2 separate regions of the Homo sapiens genome follow, and region 1 is linked to region 2. Evidence: promoter capture Hi-C in human tissues and cell types (Jung and others, 2019). All regions are on one chromosome and are shown on one strand. Each heading gives the region's core, a stretch centred on a gene start or on the middle of the fragment in contact. The rest is flanking DNA. Distances are from core to core; before and after follow the strand shown.

Region 1 (6,540 bases), core at 1,821-4,320, 280 kb before region 2:
GCCCCCCAGCATGCCAGGTTCTTGACATGCTCGCCCTCCAGCTCAGAAAATAATAGAGAAGTAGCAGCTTCCCTCTAAACCCCTGGAAAAGTGTCCATCCAAGGAGCAGGCACACCTGCCGCTGGCCTGCCTGTCCCTGCAGAGGGCCCATTTCAAGAGGGCTGCATGCAAGCCCATGGGACTCAGGCATTTAATTGTGTCAGACGACAGGCCAGTTAAAAGGACCATCTCCCTGTCTGCTTTCCTTTCTGCAAGGTTGGCTGGTTTAGCCACCCAGAAGCAGCACTGGGGGCATCCTTCAATTCATGAGGCCTGCACTGCTGCCTTCTGTGTGCACAGGGCAGTGTGCTGGGCACTGGATTTTATGTGCCGGCCTGAAGGGCTGGCTTTGCATAGGAGAGGATCTAATCTAGGCATCTAGTCTTGGGGGCCTGCACCTGTTGTGGGGGCCTCATCCTTCTCTGCAACCTCACTCCCCTTCCACGGCCTTTGAGGACCCAAGTACTGGGTCCCCATACCCCCTTCTCCCCTCTGGCCTCATGAAGCTTCTGCTTAAGGAGGGCTCCACGTCCGTCTTTAGCATCTCAGGGTGAACTAATTCCCCACCCTCTAAGGGCATTTTCATGTGAAGCTTTGTTCTCTGTGACATAAGGGGAGAGGGATGTTTAGAGGAGCTGGGGGAGGAGACCCCAGGGGATTTCCTTGTCCCCACAGATATATCTCTCCACATAGCAAAATACATGCAAAGCACCCGGCACAGTGCCCAGCACACAGTCGGTGCTCATGAAATGTCGGTTCCCTCTGCCCACTGCAGATGGTACAAACAACACACAGGGCATCAAGCTTCAGCTTGGTGAAGAGGAGGAGCATAGCCCACGTCCCAGCTCCCTTGTCCCCGTGTCACAGCTCAAGGCTAACGGCAGCTCTAGTGCCAGCATTGCTTGTGCTGAGGATGGGCCAGCACGTCCTGTGCCCGGTGGCCCCCAAAAGTGCTGCTGCCTGCCTGCTGCTGCTCTGCGTCTCCAGCTCCTCCCTCCGTGCTTCACCAAAGCCCACTCCACCTCCCTCCCCTCCCAGTCCTCCTGGAGCTCCCACCTCTCATCTTTCCTTCCACTGCGGGGCGGGTGGCAGTCTGCAGTCCTCCTCCTCGAGAGAGAGAATTGCTTCTACCCTGCCTGGGATGCTCAGAGCCAGGGCACTGATTTAGCACTCGGCTCTGAGAGGATGGACCAGGATCTTTCTCTGATGCCCTCAGGGGTCTGAGGATAAAGTGGGCCCAGCATGCAAGGTCTATAGAAAGCAAGACAAAGGGAGGCACTGAGCTGAGCTCAGACAGGAAAAGGAAGAGGCCTTGGTCCAGAGCTAAAGATGACCTGACCCTGTCCCAGCAGGGAAAGGCACGTTCCGATGTGTGAGGATCTGGAGCTCAGGAGGGATTCAGGCTCAGCAGGGACTCAGGCTCACTGCCTTCTGCTCAGGAGAGCAAACCCCTCTAGGTGAGGCTTCCTCTCTGTGCCTTTACCCCAGGGTGCCAGTGTCAGAATCAAGGGCACCATCAAAATAAGAGGCCAAGGACTTCTCAGCTATGCCAAATGCCAAAGACCCAGGTGTCATAGCTGGAGGTGAGTGGGGGGCAGCCTCTAAGTTAGGCAGGGCATATGTCATTCCAATTTCATAGGGAAACTGAGGCATGAGGTGGACCAAGTGACTTGGACCAGAGGGTAAGTGGATTGGGGTCAGGACTCCTGGATCCACAGCAGACATCCTTCTCCCAAATGGGACCCTCACCCTAATCTGAACACTTCTATGGATCCATCAGCAATCACAGGAGAACAAAGCACCAGCAACTGTATGCCTGTTCACGTGTGTGTGCTTGTGTTTGTGCACGTGTGTACACCTGCATGTGTGTGCGTGTGTGATGCTTTACTTGCTGAAGGAAGTGGAGGAAGGTTGGCAGTTTCTGATGTTTTTCTTCATCTTGGATATTGTAGGTGCCACTCCCGGGAGAGCCAGGCAGCCATGGCGGGTCAGGAGGAGACGTCTCAGGATGAGACCTATGAAGTGAAGATGAACCATGACACGGAGGCCTGCAGTGAGCCCAGCCTGCTCTCCACAGAGATGTGAGCTCTGCTGCCCTCTGCTGAGGCTGACCCAAGTGTGGGAACAAATGTGGGGAGGCAGAGGCAGGTCCCTGAGATCCCTCCTCTGGGGCTGATTGCAGGAGGAGAGGAGATCACAGAGAAAACATCTGCACCGCCTCTTTCATCTCCTCAGTGAAATGGGAGCCCCCCAACACACAACACACACAAACACACACACACCACACACACACACAGACACACACAACACACACATACACGATGCCCTTTTTAGCTTGGGGTTTCCTCGCCAGGAAAATTTCTGAACATTGTTTTATAAACATTGTAGGCTGTAAGACACAGTCATAAATATATTTTCTGGTGAGACTCAGTATGCACATACATATATAGATAATTAAACAAGTGTTTCAAGACACTGCTTATAATGAAGCTGCCCAGAAGAGGGCACTGGTGGCAAAGCCAGGCCTGAGATTTTTGTCCTTGCTGCCATTCTTAGAGTATTTTTAGCTGCAGTTCTAGATCCTTTAGAAGGTGGTGACATCCATTTGGTCACTAATGACTAGCCCTTAAAAGCAGGTGCAGCACAGCACAATATCAGAAACTATCAGAATGCGTCAAACGTCACAAAGGTAAGCGCTGTGCTGGGAAACACTTGCTTAATTGCCAACAGATGTGGCTATCTGGGGGTCTCCTTGAGAAACATCTTTATGACTCTGAGTCACATCCACAGAAGTTTGAGACACAGAGTGACATCCACAGAAGTTTGAGACACAGTGTTTCCGAAGCTTTTCTGGCTCTTTTCACCCTCAAAGCCCTGTCTCATCTGTTACTGTATACATGACTCACAACAGGCCTCTGAGACAGAGAGGGCATATGTCATTTCAATTTTGTAGAAAGGGAAATTGAGGCATGGGGTTTTCCCCAGGGGGTAATGCCTGGGTCCCATGGGCTTGCGTGCAGCCACTTGAAAATGGGCCCTCTGGAGGGACAGGCAGGCCAGCGGCAGGTGTGCCTGCTCCTTGGATGGACACTTTTCCAGGGGTTTAGAGAGAAGCTCCCACTTCTCTATTATTTTCTGAGCTGGAGGGCAGGCATGTCAAGAACCTGGGATGCTGGGGGGCTGTGCCACCTGCTGGGAGCCACTGTCCCACTCTGGAACGGCAGCACAGTGAAGCGTGGCCAGGCACGATGCAGGGTGTGTCCTCTCTCAGCCCCGCCAGGGAACCCTGGAGCTGCCGATGCAGACAGGGAGGAGCCCCACGGGGGCCCAGGGCGGGAGGGAAGCCCTCACCGACCCCTCCCAGCATGTCAGTCCATTCAGTTCCTGAAAGGACTTCAGAGTGAGGAAGGACTAGCCTTGCAGGCTTTTGAAGACAGGAAAGGTGTGGCTGGAGGTGGTGGGAGGGGACACCAGGTGCCCCACCCTGAGGAGTGTGGGGAGAATGGCAGCCAGGCCAGCACAGCATGCGGCTTCCTGGGGTCCAGTGCTTTCTGCTCGGGAACTGGATGGGAAGAGTAGCAGAAGCACCTCCTTTTCCCCAGCATAGAAAGAAGAATCGAGTGAGTAAGGAAAAGCATGGAAAGAGTCCCAACCAGCGGCACTTGACAAATCACTCAACTGCCCTGTGCCTTCGTGTCCCCATCAGCAAAATGGGACGGTGGGGGTGACAGGCCTTCTACTTTTCTGACTCAGTGAAACACGGTCAATATAAAAAAGGGAAATACCTGAAGCTCCTTATGAGATAACTGTCTCTAAATTGATTCTTAGAGAATACAAACGAATGCCTGACCACCTACCCTAGAAATCAGGAAGAGCATATATTTTAAACTATTTCGGTTATTCTAGAGTGCTTGGTGCACCAGGCACTCTGCTAGGTTGTTAAGAACCCAGTCTCCATCCTCAAGGAAATTCCACAAACTAGGAAACTAAGAGGGTCTCAGGAGAGGAAGATAACACAGAGTTTCTCACTACCCCCAGAGTGGTACAACCCCCAGGGGTACAGGCGTTCAGAGAAAGTTGAGGGCAGGGTGACCTGAACTGGTACCACGCACAAGGTGAAATGGAAGCTGGATCTGCAAGAGCCAGGGTGATTTGCATAAGAAGAAAATACAATAGGGAGGCCTTAGCTAGCTGAGAGTAAGAGCTAGTCTTGAAGGTATAAATACTGCGGTCTGCACTCTACCAGCCTTCCTGCACATCTATAAATCATCCAAGTCTCTGTGCTGTACCATGAGCAGGCATGGAGTCACCCTCAGAGGTGTGGGGTGGCACCAGGGACCAGTGAGTCAGTGGTCTCATCTGGGAATGAGGTTGGAATGCAGCTGTGCTTCTTGAACTGCAGGCTGACCCAGCAGAGATTGTGAATCAAAATTTTAATAAAAATAGAACAGACTAAAGTGGACTGGGACTCACCAGGGTGCAACGCATGCACCGAGGGTAACCAAAGGCTATGAGGTTTCATTCCATCAGGTGTGTCTGTGCATGATGAGAAGCTGTCAAATCTACTTCTCATCGAGTTTCCATCAAAGGCCTGGAAGCCATAGACTAGATGCCCCATGAGGTCCCTCACAGCCCTGCTGTTCACCTACTGAGTGACCGTAGAGTGGTTGTAGGCAGCTGCTTATGTGCTCTTGCTGATGAGGGGGTGGCAGGGCGGGAGAAATCGGGGGACGGGCATAAGTTTGGGTGAAAGTTGAGGGTCACTGGGGAAAACAGCATCAGCTCATGCAAACACGGGAGCCAAGGCCATTCCCCAAAAGAACTTCATGGGCCTAGGATTCTTTCCGCTTTCTCAACACCTTTGACCCCAGAGTGCCTTCACTGCCCCAAGTCAGAACTGCAGGCTTATGAGACAGGCTGCGGGTGAGGAGCTGGCCATTCCCACTGAGCAGGCCTGGAAGACGTCAGGGGCAGGCCAGAACTTCTTGGGGTGGCAATTCCCCAAACCTGCATGTAAGCACAAAGTGTGCGTCCCTTCACTAAGGATCAGAGCAAAGTGCTTTCCGGGGGTGCAGCTGTCCCTGTGGGTGGCCACTTCTCAGCCTCCAGGAACAAGCCCCATGAGCTCTCTGTTCCAGGCTCTCCTACCAGGATGACGAAAATCGGCAACTGACGCTCCCAGAGGAGGACAAGAGGGACATCCGGCAATCTCCGAAGAGGGGTTTCCTCCGCTCTGCCTCACTAGGTAAATGCACCGCTCGCTCTCTGGATGTGGTCGGCGGTTACTCCCTAGAGAACACTGGTCAGGGATGATTGGGAAATCGTTGTGGCCTGCCTCAAATCAGCCCCACACAGTGGGGCATTTCCAAAGCAAGGAGACAACATTCCAAAGGCAGGGTGTGCAGGGATGAGCCCTGGACACCAGAATACGTCTCAGACGAGGGGAGGGGAAAGGAGGAGCGTCTCGGGCCATAGTTACTGCTCCTGGCACCCCACCAGGGTGTAAACTGTCACAGGCCAGTGCCCTGTTTTCCTGCCCTGATGGTGGCTCTCTGGCTGGCTTTGCAGGTCGAAGGGCCTCCTTCCACCTGGAATGTCTGAAGCGACAGAAGGACCGAGGGGGAGACATCTCTCAGAAGACAGTCCTGCCCTTGCATCTGGTTCATCATCAGGTAGCTCACACTTTTGGACAGGCCACTGTCACCTGCCAGCAGGCCAGACAGTCCCCAGGGTGACGGACAAATCCTGAAGACTTCAGTGGGTCTTGCCTGTCTCAGATGGCTGGCACGTCCTGCCCCTGCCCTAAGAGCCATCCCTGTAGGGCTTCACACTCCTGTGCAGGTGAGGGCCACGGCAAGGTCTGCAGCATCGCAGGTGGGGGCCTAGGAAGTGCTGGTGCACAGGAGCTCTTTGTGTGATCCTGAGGACCCACAGCTGCAGGTTCCACCTGAGCTTTCTTCTTAGGCTGCCACAGATGCCACTGACGCCTCTGACACTGGCCTATGCCTCAGGGCACTCAGGAAGATGTACTTGTACCTAGAGTTTGAATATACCTGGAAATTTTGCCACACAAAAATCCATCCAGTGACATAAAGAAGTGATTAAAGAACCCACCAGCAACATGGTCAAGAGTAGGGAATGACATCCGTGGGAAGCAGGTCCAGGGAGATTCCATAAATGAAATGTCTCTTGGCATGGCTGACTCCAGCTGAGACAGTGAAATCCAAGATGCCAGGACCAAACATGCCTTAGTATCTTTGAACTTCAGTGTTATCTAAGGCCAGTCTATTAACCCCAGGCAAACTGAGGTCTAAACCTGGGTTTCCCAACATTCTGACCTTATTAAAGTTATACTCTTTTATAGCATGGACCTATGTTTTAAATAGACCTATGCTTTGTACCCAAAGGCATTCAACTGCCAATCAAAAGTCATAATCAGCATGAGATGGCCAGTGTGGCCTGGCTGAGTTGATAGTACTTCAGCTCCAAAAAATAAACAGG
Region 2 (6,440 bases), core at 2,626-5,125:
GCGCGTGCCATCGCGCCTGGCTAATTTTTTGTATTTTTAGTAGAGATGGGGTTTCACCATGTTGGCAAGGCTGGTCTCGAACTCCTGACCTCAGGTGATCCGCCTGTCTCAGCCTCCCAAAGTGCTGGAATTACAGGTGTGAGCCACCATGCCCAGCCCCTATATATAATTTTTAGAATCTGCTTTTCCACTTATATCATGAATGTGTCTGGTTTATTTTATATTATTTTATTTATTTTTTCTGAGACAACGTCTTGCTCTGTCGCCCAGGCTGGAATGCAGTGGCGAGGTCACGACTCACTGCAGCCTTGACCTCCCGAGCTCAAACAAGCCTCCCACTTCAGCCTCCCAAGTAGCTGGGACCAGAGGTGTGTGCTACTATGCCCAGCTAATTTTTATTTATTTATTTATTTGGTAGAGGTAAGGTCTCATTATATTGCTCAGGCTGGTCTCAAACTCCTGGGCTGAAGAGATCCTCCAACCTCGGCCTCCCAAAGTACTGGGATTACTGATGTGAGCCACTGTGCCCAATTAATTGATTTTTAACTTTGACTTTGGAATATAGCCAACACAAATACCCCTACATGAAACCACCCAGCCCTGCCCACACCCTTACTCTCCTCCTCCTGCACAGTCCATCATCAAGCTTGAGTGAGGATCCATTTGTAGGATCCAGACAGCTGAAATATTTCCACCAAAAGACTCATTCCTGAGGGTCAGTGAATTAGGGTCCTGTCCCTTAAGAAATGTAAACATCCCTGGGAAGGGCTGATGTGTGGGTAAAATCACCTTGCCTTTAACTCTTCAGAATTTGTACATCTGTTAACTTTCCTTTACCTAGACATTCCTCAACAGCTCCAAGCCTGAGGTCCCCAAAGCTCCAGAGCTCTCCAGGAGACTATAAGGGTATGGGCCAGAAAGTCAAGATCCTGAAGACACACCTTCCCAGCTTGGATCACTGATGGTCTTGGATAGTTAAGACTTAGAGGGAATAAAGATCTCCAAGTTCGTTGTCAGCAGTCTACCCTAACCGTGACACTAGGGTTGCTTTCCTGTTTCTACTCTGGACTCTGTCCTGCTTTCCTCTCCGTCCCCTGAACCTGGCTGGATTCCCCTCCGACCTCACCCCACTCCCCTTTTGCTTGAATTTCTTTCTTTCTTTTTTTTTTTTTTGAGACGGAGTTTCATTCTTTTTGCCCAGGCTGCAGTGCAATGTCGTGATCTCAGCTCACTGCAACCTCCACCTCCTGGGTTCAAGTGATTCTCCTGCCTCAGCCTCCCGAGTAGCTGGGATTACAGGCATGCACCACCACGCCCAGCTAATATTGTATTTTTAGTAGAGATGGGGTTTCTCCATGTTGGTCAGGCTGGTCTGGAACTCCTGACCTCGTGATCCACCCACCTCAGCCTCCCAAAGTGCTGGGATTACAGGTATGAGCCACTGTGCCCAGCCCTGAATTCTTATCTCACTTACTGACACCAACCATTGTTCAGCTGTTAAAGGTTAGCGATTTTTGTTTTCTCTCTCACTACACAGCCAAATGATCTGAACCGTTTCCTAGCTCCTTCCCCTCCTCCTCAACCTCAGGACCACTGCTTGAGTTTTAGGGCACCCCGAGTCTCCAGTTCAACTGCAAGACTGTTGCAAGACGGTCTTCTTGATGGTGCTGCTGATTAAGTCACACTTGTGTCTTTTTTGATGCCTAACTCTTCAGCATGGCACGCAATGACCTTCAAAGTCTGGTATCCACTTCCTTCAATCTTATTATCCACATCTCTATTCTCCAGCCACACCAGTTTACATAGCTTCGCTAAACACACCAGCAGACTGGCTGCCTCACCTTTGTAGGTGCTATTCCATGTGTCTTAAATGGGGTTTCCAGTCTCAGTTTGGCAAACCCTCATTTATCCTCAAGAGCTAGATCAAATGCACTGTAATTGGATTTCACTGTTCCTTCCCTTGGGTTCCCATTGAACTTTGCATAATTGTCTGTCTTCTCACCTAGACTGGAACTACTTGAGGAAAGGGACCTACTCCTTCCCTTAGTGCGGTGTCAAAGTCAACAAACACTCCAATGATTGCTGAATTAATATAATTATTATTAATTACTTTGAGACAGGGTTTCGCTCTGTCATCCAGGCTGGTGTGTAGTGGTGCATTCACGGCTCACTGCAGCCTCAACTTTCTGGGGTCAAACTATCCTCCCACCTCAGCCTCCTGAGTAGCTGGGACTACAGGTGCAGGCCACCATGATGCCCAGGCTGATCTCGAACTCCTGGGCTCAAGCGATCCACCTGCCTCGGCCTCCCAAATTGCTAAGATGACAGGCGTGAGCCACCGGGCCCCCCATGATTGCTGAATTAAATAGTTGGTGCTTAGTGTGTACTTCACGTGGCGCTGATATGCTGCCTTGCGTTTTGGTCTTTTCATGTGCATGAGGTGTGACCAAGCCTTGATATGATTCATTATTTAACAAGAATACCACAATTCATCTATTCAAATGAGGGCTGCGTCTTCAACGCCTTCACCTTGCAGGACTGGATGCTTAGCTCAGTCATTGCTTGAAACACTTTTGGAATACCTCTCTTGGAAACAACTTTGGCATCGATAGCACTTTCCTTTCAATATCTTCCACGGTAGCAATTGTTTTTCATTTATGCAGCATTTATCATGCACTTCCCTATCCCAGGCACCAGGCTGGATCTGTGTGAAAGATAAGATAAATCAGACATTACTCTGTCTTCAAGGAAGTTTCTGTTTGGCAAGGGAGATAAGATCTAGACAACCACCCAACACAAGGCTAAGTGATAATGCCCCAGAAAAGGTTGGATTTGATTTTTGGAAAAAGCCAAAAGTCCTTTGGTTTCAGTCTCCTGGCCAGGTAGATGATGGCGCTACCTGCCAGCACACTGCTTTAAGCCCGTTTGTCCTAAGCGTCTCCAAACAAGGAGCCCAGCGTGTTTCCAGCACCTCCTGCCCCAATAAGAGACTCCTGGGCATGTGTGTCTGAAGTCCAGACTCTCACCGATGGCAGTATACACCGAGGCCTCCCCAGCTAAACTCTGAGCTCTTTGAGGGCAGGTGCTGACGGCTGATCCTGATCTTCACAGTATCTGGACTCATCACACATCTTAGATGAATATTCATTGAGTCACTGAGCCCAGAAGGCGTCCCATGGCATGCCACATGGACTTCAAACCGAGTGCCCTTTCTCCCATGTGGTTTACTCGTAGTGGCGGTTTTACAGATGCCCAAGGGGCAGGAGAGAAAAACGGAAAGAGCTAAAGCCGGGGAGGGCAAGCGAGGGGGCACTGGCAGCGGATCTGGGAATGGAGCCCGCGAGTTCCTGCTTCCTGGTTCCCCGGAGCAAGTGTCCTTTGGTGGGAGCCGCAGGAAGGGAGCAGCCCTTCCTGCGCGCCGGGAGCCCGCCCCTTCCCCGGCCTCCCAGGGACTCGTGCGGAGGGACGCCGGGTGGCGGGGCGGGAGTCTGGGCCCCGTCCACCCCCCCGCCCCCGGGACAGCCCCACCCCGGCGAAGAGGAAGGCTCTCGGCTCCTGGGAAAGGGAGTCGGGACCCCGCCAGGAGGGGAGGGCGCGGGGCGCGCAACGAGCAGCCAAACAGTCGGAGCGGAGAGATCGAAGGGCTAGTGGGCGTGGGGGCCGCAGCCGAGGCCCGGGTGGAGGGGTCCCCGCCGTCCCTCGGCCCCCTCCCCCGCCGCCCGCCCCGGCCCGGCCCGGCCCCGCCCCGCCCCGGCGGCCCGGCCCCTCGCCCGCCCGCGCGCGGCGCAGTCTCCTCCCCGAGGTGCCGGTGGCCCCGCCGCCACTCCCTCCGGCTCCCTCCCTCCCGCCGCGGCGCGCATCTCATTCCAGCCCTCATTCCGCGCATTCCAGCGTCCTCCTCGCACACTCGAGGCCAGGGGGCGGGAGGGCCGCAGCTCCGGCGCCGCCGCGTCCCGCCAGGTGAGAGGCGCCCGCGCCCGCCGCACCCGCCGGCGCCCTCACGGGCCGCGCGCCCCACGCCGCCGCAGCCGACCGCTCGCGCCGCGTGCTCGGCTGCTCTTTTCTTTCCGCCGCCCGCGTTCCCGCCTTGGACCTCTGCGCTCCGACGCGCTCCGTCCCGACCTCTGGCTTCCCTCCGCGCTCCGGCGCTGCTCGCTGCCCCTCTCCCGCTTCCCTCCTGTCCGCCCCGCGCTCCCCTCCTCGCTCCCGGTTGACTCACTCCTCCAGGAATAGGGATCCCCGTGTTTTCCCGTCAGTCCCATTCTGGGAAAACTCCTCCCTCCGCGCGCTCCGCTCCGCTCCGCTGGGCGCACCGGGGCCGGTCGGCGCGGGGTGGGCTTGGCCCCGCGGCCCCGCCTTCACTGCGCCGCCCGTCGGCCCCGGCCGGAGCCCGGCTCTGCGCGCTGACGCCCTGTCGTCCCCGCAGAACGATCGCCGCGGCCGGAAGAGTTGGCGCTCGGGGCGGACTCCTTGGAACTGGCTTAGCGCACCCATCCCACCTTCCCGCACCCTGGGACCGGTAAGGCTGGGGCGCGGGGACTTGGTAGGACTTTGCCGGAGGGCAGGAGTCTGCGCGGTGCGTGCGGAGCTCCCTCCCGGGACGAGACTGGGAAGAGCGAGGCACGTGGAGGCGGCGCGACTGAGGCTGCTGGAGGCGAAGCGGCTCCAGGGGCGGGTAAGGGGGGTGGACACTCGGGACTTTGGGGGAAAGGGAGGCCGGTGTGGAAAGGACCGGAGAGGCAGAACCGAGAGCATCGGCAACAGAAGAGACCCAGCACCCATGCCTCTTTTCTGCTGGGCCCTTTTCGAGCCTGGAAGGGAGAGACCTGGAGGTAAGCGGACTGCCTGTTTTAAGTGCAAAGGCGATGCGAAAGTCGGGGGACCCCTGCAAAAGGTCCTACACCTCAGGGCTTGGGAAGCTGCTGTGTTTCCTGATGGGGACTAGTGGATCGATCCAGGGAGCAGAACTTTCAAACCCCAAAGTGAACATTTCCCCCGTTGTGCTGAGGCACTTGAGGCCCCGCGGACTGACTGCGTCTGTGCTGAGTCTGTGTGACACCTGACTGCGAGTCCCCCTCGCTTTGAGTCTCTGTGTGGGTGATGTCTGTTCACGTGTGGCTCACCTTGGCTTCCAGTGGGCGTATTTGTTTGTGTTGAACGTGAGTGACAGAGTGTGTGTATATGTCTGCGTGAGAAGGGGCTGTCTGAAAGTGAGTATCTCTGAGTAGGTGTGTGATGCCACGTCTCTTGAGTATGTGTTTCTCTTCGAGGATGTTGGTTCTGGCTAGGACTGTTCTTCCTCCCTACATAGCCGTGGGCAAGAGTCAGTGTCTCTGGTTGCCTGAGTGCAGGGATAATTTGACTGTGGTTTTGGAGTGTGTGGCCTCCAGGCTCCGTTTCCCCTGGACCGGGCAGAGCTGGAAGGAAGCTGGCTCCACCTGCCTCTTGGAGCCAGGAGGCTGACTTTCTCAGGGCGAGGGTCTTGTGCTTGCCTGGAATAGGTCAAAAAGCTGGTAGGAGGCTGAAGGAAGTTGAGATCTTTGCCTTTGGGGGATGGGATGGGCGGGTGAGATTTGGGAAGGTTTGTCGGGGTGGATCCCCGGGAAAAGGAGACAGTTTTGAATCTGGAGACTTGTGTAAATAGTGCTTTTAAGTTGCCCTCAAGGACAAACAGGGAGGTATACCAGCCTGAACTACTTTTCCTGGTTTAACTCTCCTCGGAGCTGACCAGGTAACCCAGTAGAAGAATCCCTCATTCTTTCCAACTTGCCAGACACTCAGCACTTCCTTTGAGAAGAGGAATGAGTAGCTTGTTGCATGAGGGCTTCAACGTGGATATCATGTGTAGGGCTTCTTGGAAGGAAGGAGCCAGAAACTGTCTCGGGGGTTGGGGGTTCTCGTCCTTGCTCCTCCATCCATCCTGAGGATGTGGATGTTCTTGTGGGAAACACCTCACCCTCTCACCTCTTCGGCCTGGTGTGCGACTGGTCTAAAAGCAGCACTGATGGAGTGGAAAGGGCACAGGTTTGGGGTCAGGCAGACCAGGGTACAAATCCTGAGTCTCTCACTACCTTTAAGGCTCTCAGGCTGTTTCCTGGTGGGTAATACGAGCGGAGCTTTTCTGTCCAGAAAGTTTCTTGTGAAAAGTCGATGTCTGCAGAGCCCCCACCCAGCAGCACAGTGCCTGGCACATCCCATGGACTCCATAGGATAGCTGTTGTATCCAGTGTTTCCTTCGCTTATTTCAGTAAGAACCCCTTTTTCCTAGGGATTAGTGTTTTTTGAATTAGTGTTTCTCTGAGCACCATTTGAGAAACCTTGCCCTGTCTATCATGTTTATTTAGCAAACATGAATCGAGCATTTACTGTGAGCCAGGCCCTACGCTGTGTTCCGCGTCCTTAGGAATCCAGGGTCCTAGTGGCCCAGGTCAGGAGGGAGG

What was found. Contacts are between HindIII fragments. The study calls those that stand out against the background at their distance.
Region 1: a contact is called between a fragment that was not itself captured here and the fragment with the promoter of TEAD4 in region 2, in 1 of the 25 tissues and cell types used here (spleen).

Annotation. Positions count from the first base shown.
Region 1 is chr12:2,680,559-2,687,098 of GRCh38, forward strand. It overlaps CACNA1C (calcium voltage-gated channel subunit alpha1 C), which reads left to right. Exons shown (of 47, transcript NM_000719.7): 43 at 1,992-2,120; 44 at 5,178-5,284; 45 at 5,608-5,711. The region is part of intron 3 of CACNA1C-AS1 (CACNA1C antisense RNA 1); the gene reads right to left. Among named protein-coding and RNA genes, the nearest start is that of CACNA1C-AS1, 7.3 kb to the right of the region's middle. The HindIII fragment of the contact is 6,250 bases long and covers 1-6,195 here.
Region 2 is chr12:2,955,522-2,961,961 of GRCh38, forward strand. TEAD4 (TEA domain transcription factor 4) reads left to right here and starts at 3,876. Exons shown (of 13, transcript NM_003213.4): 1 at 3,876-3,960; 2 at 4,427-4,519. LOC124902859 (a long non-coding RNA gene) reads right to left here and starts at 4,527. Exons shown (of 2, transcript XR_007063159.1): 1 at 4,220-4,527; 2 at 2,077-2,704. RefSeq lists an enhancer at 4,046-4,781. The HindIII fragment of the contact is 29,957 bases long and covers 1-6,440 here.